2 separate regions of the Homo sapiens genome follow, and region 2 is linked to region 1. Evidence: promoter capture Hi-C in 16 types of primary human blood cells and fetal thymus (Javierre and others, 2016). All regions are on one chromosome and are shown on one strand. Each heading gives the region's core, a stretch centred on a gene start or on the middle of the fragment in contact. The rest is flanking DNA. Distances are from core to core; before and after follow the strand shown. Region 1 holds the start of FAM110A (family with sequence similarity 110 member A). Region 2 holds the start of TMEM74B (transmembrane protein 74B).

Region 1 (5,319 bases), core at 1,698-4,197:
TTTTTTTGTAGAGCTGGGGATCTCGCTTTGTTGCCCAGGCTGGTCTGAAGCCCCTGGGCTCAGGCACTCCTTCCACCTCGACCTCCCAAAGTGGTGGGATTACAGGCATGAGCCACCTTATTGTGGTTTCTTGTCTCTTTCTAACCAAATCTTCACTTTATTACTTAATTTCATATCTGTAATTTTTTCTTAAAGAGGTCTCCCTAGGGCTGGACGTGGTGGCTCACGCCTGTAATCCCAGCACTTTGGGAGGCCGAGGTGGGTGGATCGCCTGAGGTCAGGAGTTCAAGACCAGCCTGACCAACATACTGAAACCCTGTCTCTACTAAAAATACAAAAAATTAGCGGGTATGGTGGCGGGCACCTGTAATCCCAGCTACTCAGGAGGCTAAGACAGGAAAATCACTTGAACTTGGGAGGCAGAGGTTGCAGGGAGCTGAGATCGTGCCATTGCATTCCAGCCTGGGCGATAAGAGTGAAACTCTGTCTCAAAAAAAAAAAAAAAAAAAAAAAAAGAAGTCTCCCTAGGCTGAAGCTACCTGCTCAATCTTCTCTTGTGTCTTATAGGATCACAGGATCCCCCTTGCCTTACCTCACTGTTACTCCCAAACAGTTCTCACATGTTTACAAGGGAATGTAACAGAGTGGATCAGAGAATTCATTCTGGATCCAGACCGACCTTAGTTTTCTCATCTATATAATGGGAATAATAGCAGGATCTCTCGCCTTAGATAGTCATGAAGTCCAATGAGATGATGTGTATAAAGCCCTAACACAATGTAGCAGAGGGCACAGGGCCAGGATTGATATTTAGCTGGTCCTCACGGATACAGCAGACTCCCTGTTTATGACAGTGGTTGGCTCTGATTTGGTTGGTGTCCATGCCAGAGTGTACAATCATTATTAGCTATTGATATATTATTAGCTCCCTCCCCTGCCCACCCAGGGGTTTACGCAGTAAGTTCTCAATTATTGGCAATCCAAACAAAGAATAAAAGACACCAGCTGGAATGAAACAGAGAAGCTGGTTCCAAATTGAGCAATTCAGACTGACTGCTATAAAATTTCCTCACCTTAAAGGCCCTTAGAGTTAATTCATTCTAATCCCCCTAAAAATATACTTTTTTGACATGTTCAAGTATTGGAAATTTGGAAAATTCACAAAAACACAAAGAAGAAATTAACTGCTGTGATTATAGATGATTATACACATATACATATGTATTTAATACATATTTATGCTGTACATAGTGTTTTGAAGCATACTGTACTTCAAAAAAATTTGGGAGGGGTGCATTGGCTTATGCCTGTAATCCTAGAAATTCAGGAGGCCAAAGCAGGAGGATCACTTGAGGCCAGGAGTTCTAGACTGGCCTGGGGCAACATAGCGAGACCCGTAGCTTGACATGGTGATGCGGGCCTGTAGTCTTAGTTACTCTGGAGGCTGAGGTGTGAGGATTGCTTCAACCTAGGTTACAGTGAGCTATGATTGCACCACTGCACTCCACCCTGGGCAACAGAGCTAGACCCTGTCTCTAAAAAACATAAATAAACCAATGTTTAATACTTAGCATTTCCCCCTATCTTTAAATATCTTCTAGCTACTTCACTTTTATTTTTATCTTTTTGAGATGATCTCTTGCCCAGGTTGGGGTGCAGTGGCATGATCTCAGCTTACTGCATCCCCCACATCCCAGGTTCAATCTATTCTCCTGCCTCAGCCTCCTGAGTAGCTGGGATTACAGGCATGTGGCACCACGCCTGGCTAATTTTTGTATTTTTAGTAGAGACGAGGTTTCACCACGTTGGCCAGGCTGGTCTTGAACTCCTGACTTCAGGTGATCTGGTCGCCTCAGCCTCCCAAAGTGCTGGGATTACAGGTGTGAGCCACTGCTCCTGGTAGCTACTTCACTTTTAATGGCTGCATAATATTCCTCATCAGAAAGTGGGAAAAATTAGGCTAGGTGGCGTGGCTCATGCCTGTAATCCTAGTACTTTGGGAGGCTGAGTTGGTAGAATTGCTAGAGCTCAGGAGTTTAAGATCAGTCTGGGCAACATGGCAAAACCCCATCCCTACAAAAAATACAGAAAATACCGGGTGTGGTGGTGCACACCTGTAGTCCCAGCTACTTGGGAGGCTGAGGTGGGAAGATTGCTTGACCCCAGGAGATTGAGGCTGCTGTGAGCTGAGATCCTGCCACTGCACTCCAGCCTGGGCGACAGAGTGAGACTCCATCTCAAAAAAAAAAAAAAAAAAAGAAAAGAAAAAGATAAAGAAATAAATAAAGTGTTAATAATTAAAAGTACTTTTAGAGGGTTATGTCATAAGCCTTGACAAGACTTGTTCTGTAAAGCTACCCGGCATGCAAAAAGCTCAATTAAGTTAGCTCCTCCACAGGATGGAATTATATAACCAATCCCTTTCAAGAGGCATTGAAGTTGTTTCCATTATTTTGCTATGATGAATAAGGCTGAGCAATATTAATCTTTGCTCATATCTTTGGTCATTTCCTTTGTAAATTTCGGGACTGCTGGGTATGCACATTTTAAAATTAACTCACTCATCATCATGCAGTTAGGAGAACAGAGAAAGGAAGGGGCTTGCACCGGGTCACATAGGGAGTTAGCGTCAAAGTCAGGACTAGGAACCAGCCAGGGCCCTCTAACTGGAGCTCTTCCAGCTGGGGTCCTAGAGGAAGTCCCAGCTGGCCGCGGGAGGGAGGAGGAGGAAGGGAAAGAACCAGGCGCCGGGGCTGAAGCGGCGGCAGGAAGAAGGTGGGGCCGGCTGGGAGGAGCGGGCGGAGCTGCTGAGCAGCGCCTCTCCTTCGGGCGGGGGAAGCTAAGCGGTCGCCTGGCAACCCTGGCGGCGCGCCGTTCGAACGGAAGCGAGGAACCAATCAGGAAGTCCGGGGCGAACCATTCTGGTGTGAAGGGGGGCGGCGTGCTCACTTCCCCTTCCACGGCGCCCCAGGGACTTTCCCTGCGGTGGGGGCCTTCGACAGTGAGGGCCACCCGCTCAGCTCGACCGCGGAGGGCAGCTCCAAAGGGGACCCCAAAGGTGCCCACGCGGGGCTGGGGCCTCCTGGGCGTCGTTGGGAGCGGCCACTACCGGCCCGGGTCCGAGCTGTCAGCCTCTCCAAAGCCTGCGCGAGAGGAGCCGGGACACGCCTAGCGCGGGCTCCAGGTGAGGGCGCGGGTGGGTCCGGGTGCGACCCCGGGTCTGGGGGCCCCGTTCCCCGAGCGTCTGCTGTCTGCTTTCTCCCCGCGTCGTACCTGCGTGTCATTTCACAGATGAGGACTCTGAGGCTCAGAGAGGCAAGTGTCCCGGCCCGGCGAGCTCTGGCGGAGAATCCAGTTCAAGTCTTTCTGCCCCACCTCGCAGCCCCCTAGTCTAGTCACATCTGGACTTGCCTTGAGAGGCCCAGACGGGCAACTGGTAGTCATTTTCCCAGCGTTTTATCGGCAGGGACCTGTAGACCCCTGGCTGGATCACATATCCCCGCGCCCCACACTGTCCTCGGGATACCCCCTTTGGGCGTCTGTCTTTCCTTCTCCGCAGTCCGGGGTTGGACTCGGCTCATTTGGCGCCTTTCTGTCTACGGGGACAGAGGACCACTCTTTGGGGATCGGACGGGACTGACATTTCTGGGCTGGATGCAGGGGCAGCAGATTCTCCAGCCCCCAGAGCCGCTGCTGGCCTCTTGGGAATCATCCCCAGTTTGGGGAAGGGAATAGAGCCAGTCCCTAAACCAAAGCCACTAGTCACCAGAGACTTTGGAATTGGGAGTGGGGCCGGAATCCCCCCAGGTGGAGCAGCTGACCTAGGCCAGACCCTGCTGTGTCTCCTGGGGACACCCCCTGCCCCCTAGGTTGCTATTGTCAGTCTCCTTTTGTAGGTGGGGAAACGGAGGTTCTAAGAAGTTAAGCCCCTTTTCGAAGTCACAGTCAGACAATGCAGTGGTTAGCTCCTAGTCCCTCTGGCTTCAATCTTAGAATCCTTGACACACAGAATCATGCATTTTGAGAGTCTTCAATCTCTTCATAAGGGAGTTACATATCCTCTCTCCTCTGGAGCCTGCCCCTGGCTTTGGGGGACAGGATCTCCGAGGACTCAGAAAGAAAACAAGGCTTTCTTTTATTCTTTCAACAAATATTATTTATTGACTTCATAAGCCCTGCTCTGGTTCTTGCATGTTTTGGTTTTTTTACTTATTAGCAAATGTATCATCTTCTCCCACTGTGATGCAAGGCAGGGGCTGAGGCAATTGAGCCAGTGCAAAATTTAGGGATGCCCAAAACCTCAGTAATCAAGACTGAAACTAACGTTCATGGACCATTTGTGTGTTCTGCAGGCAGGAGGTTAACTCACACAGCCTTCATGAAGTGCAGTCCTCCCATCTCTCTCTCTCTCTCTCTCTCTCTCTCTCTCTCTCTATATATATATATACACACACACATATATACACACACACATATATGTATATATATGTATGTGTGTATATATGTATATATGTGTATATATATGCATATTTATAAATCATGAAACCACTGCCCTGTCCCTGAGTTGCTCTGTGACATTGAGTAAGTTTCTTCAGTCTCTGGGCTGAGCTAAGAAGTCATGATGGTGCACTCAGGCCTGGGCAGAGGGCAGTCTAGGATAGGAAGTGGGCTTGGCTGTGGATCTGCCTCCCCCTCCCCTTTCTAATCCTGCGTGCCAGGCCCTTCCCCAAGACCTTGCATGTGTTATCTTCCATTCTGTCCTCACTGCAAAATCCTTCATCCCCATTTTGCAACCTCAAGTGCAGACCTAGGCCTAGAAGATCAACTTGGTATCAGTGGGCCTAGATGTCCACATCCACACCCATTCCACAGCCTACTCCCTTCTCCCTTCCTAATGTTAGTGCAAGGCCACCCTGAGCAAGGCTGACTCCTGGGCAGGCCAGGGCACCAGCGTCTGGGAGGCCTCCAGAAATAGCTCAGGGCCTGGTGTGGCTCTGGAGGTGGCCCAGCTGGGTGTCCCTGACCTGGACAGCTGGGCTGAAATTGAGCTGGGGCTGCCCTGCTGGCTGGCCCCTTGCCACTGCCTGGAGCCTTCCCAATCTCCTCTGGGGCAGGCAAGGGCCTCCCCAAATCTAGGCCAGGCTTCTGCTGAAGGGAAAGAAAGAAGCAGGTGGGAGGAAGGGGGCGGGTTGGGTGTAGAATGTCATGAAAATTATAACCTTTGGAAACCACACCTCCCACCCCCTCACCAAAGAATAAAAATCACTAACACCTCTTGAGCATTTACTATGTTCTAAGTACTTTACAAGTATGAACTCA
Region 2 (5,319 bases), core at 1,098-3,597, 350 kb after region 1:
AACCACAGGAGGGGAACCGGGAGGGAGAGGCGAGAAGAGGGACACTCTCTGTGCTGCAAGAGGAGTTACCCCACCCAAGAACCTGAACACAAACCCACCCAGACACAGACAGCACATGTGCATTCCCGCTGAAGGATACTGACTTACAGCCCGGGGACCATATTTGGCTGATAGAAGTTTTGCTTTGTTTTGTTCCTGGCCTGTTCATTTGTTTTTGGTGAATTAGTTGCAAATGTATAAAAAGCAAAAGATTTTAGATTTTACATTTTAAATGTTGGATTCCTGGCTTCTCCTGCAAAATGAAAGAATCTGGCCACCTTAGGCCCCCGTTCCCTTGTAACACTCGCCTGGAGTTGGCAATCGGGGCTCTTAGGCAGATCTAGCCTCTCCCCGACAGGTCCCACCTCAGCCCCCTTCCCTGCCTGGCATGTGTCATTCCTAATCCACAGCAGAACTGCATCATTCCTTGTATACACTGATGGCCTGAGGGCACATACACTCAGAGCCCTAGGCGCACAAGCCATGGGCTACAGAGACCACCAGGTGCAGAGTGGCTCACATGCTCCGGTGTGTCTACGCACACATACATGCACACACACACGATTCTCTGCATTCTCATGCCGGAGTTTATTCTCCAGTGCACTGTGGTTCGTTCTCTGTGTGTGTGTGTGTGTGTGTGTGTTTGTGTGTGTGTGTGTGTGTAAATATGAGCAAATGAAGTGAGGATGAATGGAATGAATGAATGAATGAAACTCAAAGAGCCTCAGTGCAGGAAGACATGTTTTTCAATCTTTCTGACCTTCTTGTCAATATGGACTAGCATCAGACACCTCCTCTTAGCACATATAGGGCCTTTCATGTGAGTACAAAGCTCTTTTCCCTTTACAGCCCATTTCTATCACTACGTCTCTCTTTCCAGAGTCTCAATTTAGTAAATGTTTACCAAGCACCTACTAGCTGTTGAGCCATGTACCCGACACTTCATGCAGGAGTATCTCATATCACCCTCACCAGCCCCACGATCCGGAATTACTGTCTCTATTTCATAAAACATGGCCAAGATCCCATGGCATGTATGGGAGGGTGGAGGACAGGAGTTGAATGCAGATTCCCTAAGAATTATTATCATGTACAAACCTGCAAACTCATACCCCTGTGCTGGTGGCATCACTCCACCAGCCTTCCCTGGCTCTGCATCCCTCACTCATAGACTCTTCATTTTATCCAGCTGTTTATCAGCAACCGTGAGCACCTTGAGAGCAGGCATAAGTTTGAATTCCATCTGGGTCCCCAGCCTGCGCCCAGACTGCTTTTACTTTCCAGTGAATAGACAGAAAAAAGAGATGTGTTTGTTGGTTGGCTTTTTACTCTTAGCACCAAAAACATTTTCCTGAGTGCCCAGCCACAAACAGGGACCAGCAGTGGGTGCCACATGGGTGCTCAGAAGTGGCCCCCACCCACACCCTCAGCACCTTCCACCCAACTCAGCTCCTGGAGTGGCCCAGGAACCCCTTTCCCAGACTGATATATTGATGCCTCCACACCCTGGAAGAAATCTGGAGCTCCCAAATTCTGGGAGCAGAGCTCTCCTTCATGCTGCAGGAACCCAAAACTTTTTTCTTAGGATGCCACAGTGAGAGGGCAGAGAAAAATGAGGATTCCTCTCACCCAGAGTTAGGACATCTCTCTGTTTCATGCCCAGGTTCAGAGATATTCACCAGTTACACAAAGGCCGTGCCCAATTACCCTAACATAAGCAGAAACACACCAACTGACATAGCTGCTCCCGCCCACCATTCACACCCCACGACCCCACCAGTTACTAATTTCATCTGCAGTCAGACAGGTCCTGAAAGGAACACTCCAGTTCCACACACACTCCCCCAGCAGCTGTTCCCACAGCAGTACCCACAGACACCCAGAAGTCACGTAGTGTGACCCTCGGATCTTCGGGCCACGCGAGTACCCCGTCACACGCACACGCGCGTACACACACACACACACACACACACACACACACACAAAGTGCCCCTGGGAGTGAGACCCAAGCCAGATCCACCAAGACCCGCAGGGGCCCAATACCCCACCCGCCGCGCGCACTGACACCCGGAGAGAGGGACGCACAGCGGCTGTGGGTGAAGCTTCACAAAACCCAGTCGATAGACACACGCACGAGTTGTACACAAAGCCTTGGGGCGCGCAGATACGCACACGCAGGTCCACGCTGTTGTACCCAAAGTTGCGCGCAGAAAGCCCCAGCACGCCGGCTGCCCACCGCGCCCGCTCCCGCCGGCCCAGTCCACACCCCCTGCTCCTGCCCTTGCCCACAGACGCGGGACCCGGAAGGCCGAACCGGACCAGGCGGAGGCCCGGGGAGGCCGGGTCCCCTGGTCGCATGTCCTTCGGCGGGCCGCGAGGTCAGGCTCGCCGTCCTTCGCCGCCACTCCCCGCCCCCGGCCCTCGGCCTCCTGCCGCCCCCAGCGGTCCCCTCTCCGCGTGCGTACCTGTGCCGGGCCTCCCTCCCCGCCTCACCACGCTGGGGCGAAGGGCGCCCGGCCGCCGGCGGGCGAGGGTGCGTCCTCTCCGGTGCCCGTCCGCCTTCCTGCAGCCGGCGTACGCCTGCGGGGGTCTCGCCTGCGGGGGTCTCTCTCCTGCGGCGCAGCCCGGAGGGCGCGGGCCCGGCCGCCACCGCCTCGCCCTCCCGGTCTCCCGCCCCCTTCCCGGCCCGGCCCGGAGCCACTGCCGAGGCGCACGTACCTACTCGCGCCGCGCGGAGCTGTACGGCGGCGGTGGCGGCCGCTGGGGAGGCGGGGGGGGGATCCGGGGACGGAGGGACGGGAGAAGGGGCGGGGGCCGGGGCTCGCCGAGCGCCGCGGAGGGAGCTCCGCCCGCGGCCGGCGAGGGCGCCCGGAGAGTTAGCAAGGAGAGGGACAGGAAGGCGGGTGATGGGCTGGGGCGAGGGTGCGGGGGCTCCGATCCACCGTCCTCCCCTCCCCTCCAGGCAGATCTGGATCGCCGGCGCCTGGGCTTAGGGAACTGGGGCTTGGAGCCCGCGGTCCACGGGCGCAGGGGCGGGGCGGGCGGGGGCTGCTGAAGAAGATCCCTCCCCACCACCGGAGAGCCCCTATTGCGCCAAGCGCAGGTGCCTCCCCACTCCTCACCCCCACTCTGCCACTTCCCCTTCCCCCCACCCCCACCCCGCACGCAGCCCCCAGGTAGGACCCCGGGTCCTCTCCGAGGTCCTTAGGTCGGGACGGTCTCCTCGGGCGCTTGCGGCTCCGTGGCTCAAGGGCGCCACCTGAAGGCTGCAAGAAAGAATCCGACGATCCCCCTCCCCCTTTTCTCTGCAATTTTTTTCTCCGTGGGACAGTGGAGTGCTCCGCCCAAGAGGGGTGTTCTCCTGGGGGCATTGCCAATGGCCAAACACACCCTCACCCTCCAAGGCCCAGCTGTGGGGCCTCTTCTCCTGGAACCCCTCCCTGGGCACACACCCACTTACCCCACGGGCCCCTCCATCTGGGCTCTCCTTTTGCCCGCACTGTTTGCTCTTGTCTCTGACGGTCGTGATTTTGTTTAAGGGTCAGCCTCCTCCATCGGATTGGCAGCTCCTGGAGAGCAGGACCCATGTCTGATCACCTAGAAGACCTAGGTGGGTGTGGGTGAACAGGCTGTGAAAAGGGGTGACTTTCACTTCTTTCCTTTACAGGGCCGGAGTTAAGATGAGTCCAGCGAAGTGCCTAGAGTACCAAATTCATGGAGACGTTTCCTCTTTGGGGAACACACGCCAACCCCAGAGACAGCTTTGGTCTGAATCGTGCAGGTTCCGGGAAGACACGGTGACCAGCTGAATCGTGTGGTCTCGGTTAGTACCTCTGGCCTCTGAGCCTGTATCCACTTCTGTCCATGAGGATTGTGAATGTGCAGGCTTTGAGGGCTCTGGGAAGGCCAGCAGAAGTTGGCCATGTGGAAGGACAGGCGAATGAGTGTGCCATGTCCTGCTCCTCGGCCACCTCATGAGCGGAGCCTGACCTGCCCTCCTCCAAAGTTCTGTGCAGCCCTCCCCAACCAGGAGACTGGAAGTCACCCTGGATGATGGATGCCTGTGCCTTCAAGGCCAGCATAGCCTAGCCCTAGGCAGGTCCACCAGGGCTGGGAAGGCCTCCATTTCCTCCCAGCCTTGCAGAGGCCTGGCCCGTTGTTAGAGACTTCAAAGGGATGCTAGCCCTGGCACCACACTCCTGTTCAAATCCCAGCTCCACCCCCACAGCTGGGTGCCCTGGTGTAAAGGACTGCCCTCCTGGAGCTCGGTTTCCTCCTCTGTGAAACGGATGTAGGAAGTGTTATGGGAATGGGATGAGATACCGCCTTTAAAGCACTCACTGTTCCTTCCCTCAGTCATGCGCTGTCCTACCTCAGCCTTTGCGCTGGCTGTTCCTTCTGCCTGGGACGTTTTTCTTTCTGATATTTCCCGCACTCACCCCCTTCCCTCACTTCCTTCAAGTCTTTGCTCAAATGCCACCTTCTCAGAGACGCCATTCCAGGCCATCCTTTCAAAAATAGCAGTGCCCCAGCACTCTTTACTCCCTCACTCTGAATTTTTCTCTATAGCACTTACCAACTGACATTAGTTTCTGTTTGCTTATTGCCACCTCCCCTAAAAAATAAGTGCCAAAAGAAGAGGGTTTTTGCCTGTTTCCCTCCCTGCAGTATCCCCAGACACTAGAAAAGGGGCTAACACCTAGGAAGCTCTGGATAAGTGCTCACTGAATAAAGAACAGAGAAAATGGGCAAATATTATATACTAGTTAGCTAGGTAGACTCCATCCCTACACTCAGGAAGCTTGTATTCTAGTGGGAGAAAAGGATAAGTAAATGTAACATTGCAGTTATAGTAAATGCTACCAAATAAAAGTATAGAGTGCAAGCCTCAAACAAGGGTGCCAACCTAGTCTTGGGGATAGGAATGGCTTCCTGTAAAAGTGTGGACTGAGCTGAGATTAGAAGGATGAGTAGAAGGCAACCAGATAAAGAGGGGAGGAAAGAGAAGTCCAGCAGAGCGCCTAGCATAGGCGAAGACCTTGGGGTAGAAGGAAGTGTGTGACGAGTTTGAGAGTTGCAGGAGACCAGTATGGTTGTCATGGAGGGCCTGATAAGGAACCTGGTAGGAGACGAGCCTGGGCTTAGCAGGTCAGGTCACTGCAGAGCCTTACAGGCCAAGTAATTTGTTCTTTATCCTCAGAGCAGTGGAGAGCCTCACTGATGAATGTAAGTAAAGGGTTAACAAAACCTTTTCCTCTTTTGCATGAGAATTTGACCTTT

What was found. Contacts are between HindIII fragments. The CHiCAGO score rates a contact against its expected background, and 5 or more counts as called.
Region 2: the fragment with the promoter of TMEM74B here is called in contact with the fragment with the promoter of FAM110A in region 1 in 1 of 17 cell types (erythroblasts); the score reaches 5.2 in erythroblasts.

Annotation. Positions count from the first base shown.
Region 1 is chr20:830,768-836,086 of GRCh38, forward strand. FAM110A (family with sequence similarity 110 member A) reads left to right here and starts at 2,948. Exons shown (of 2, transcript NM_001042353.3): 1 at 2,948-3,184. RefSeq lists a silencer at 3,199-3,348 and an enhancer at 4,865-4,964. The HindIII fragment of the contact is 11,509 bases long and covers 1-5,319 here.
Region 2 is chr20:1,182,634-1,187,952 of GRCh38, forward strand. TMEM74B (transmembrane protein 74B) reads right to left here and starts at 2,348. Exons shown (of 3, transcript NM_001304748.2): 1 at 1,669-2,348; 2 at 1,138-1,315. The coding sequence starts at 1,168. The HindIII fragment of the contact is 2,699 bases long and covers 2,140-4,838 here.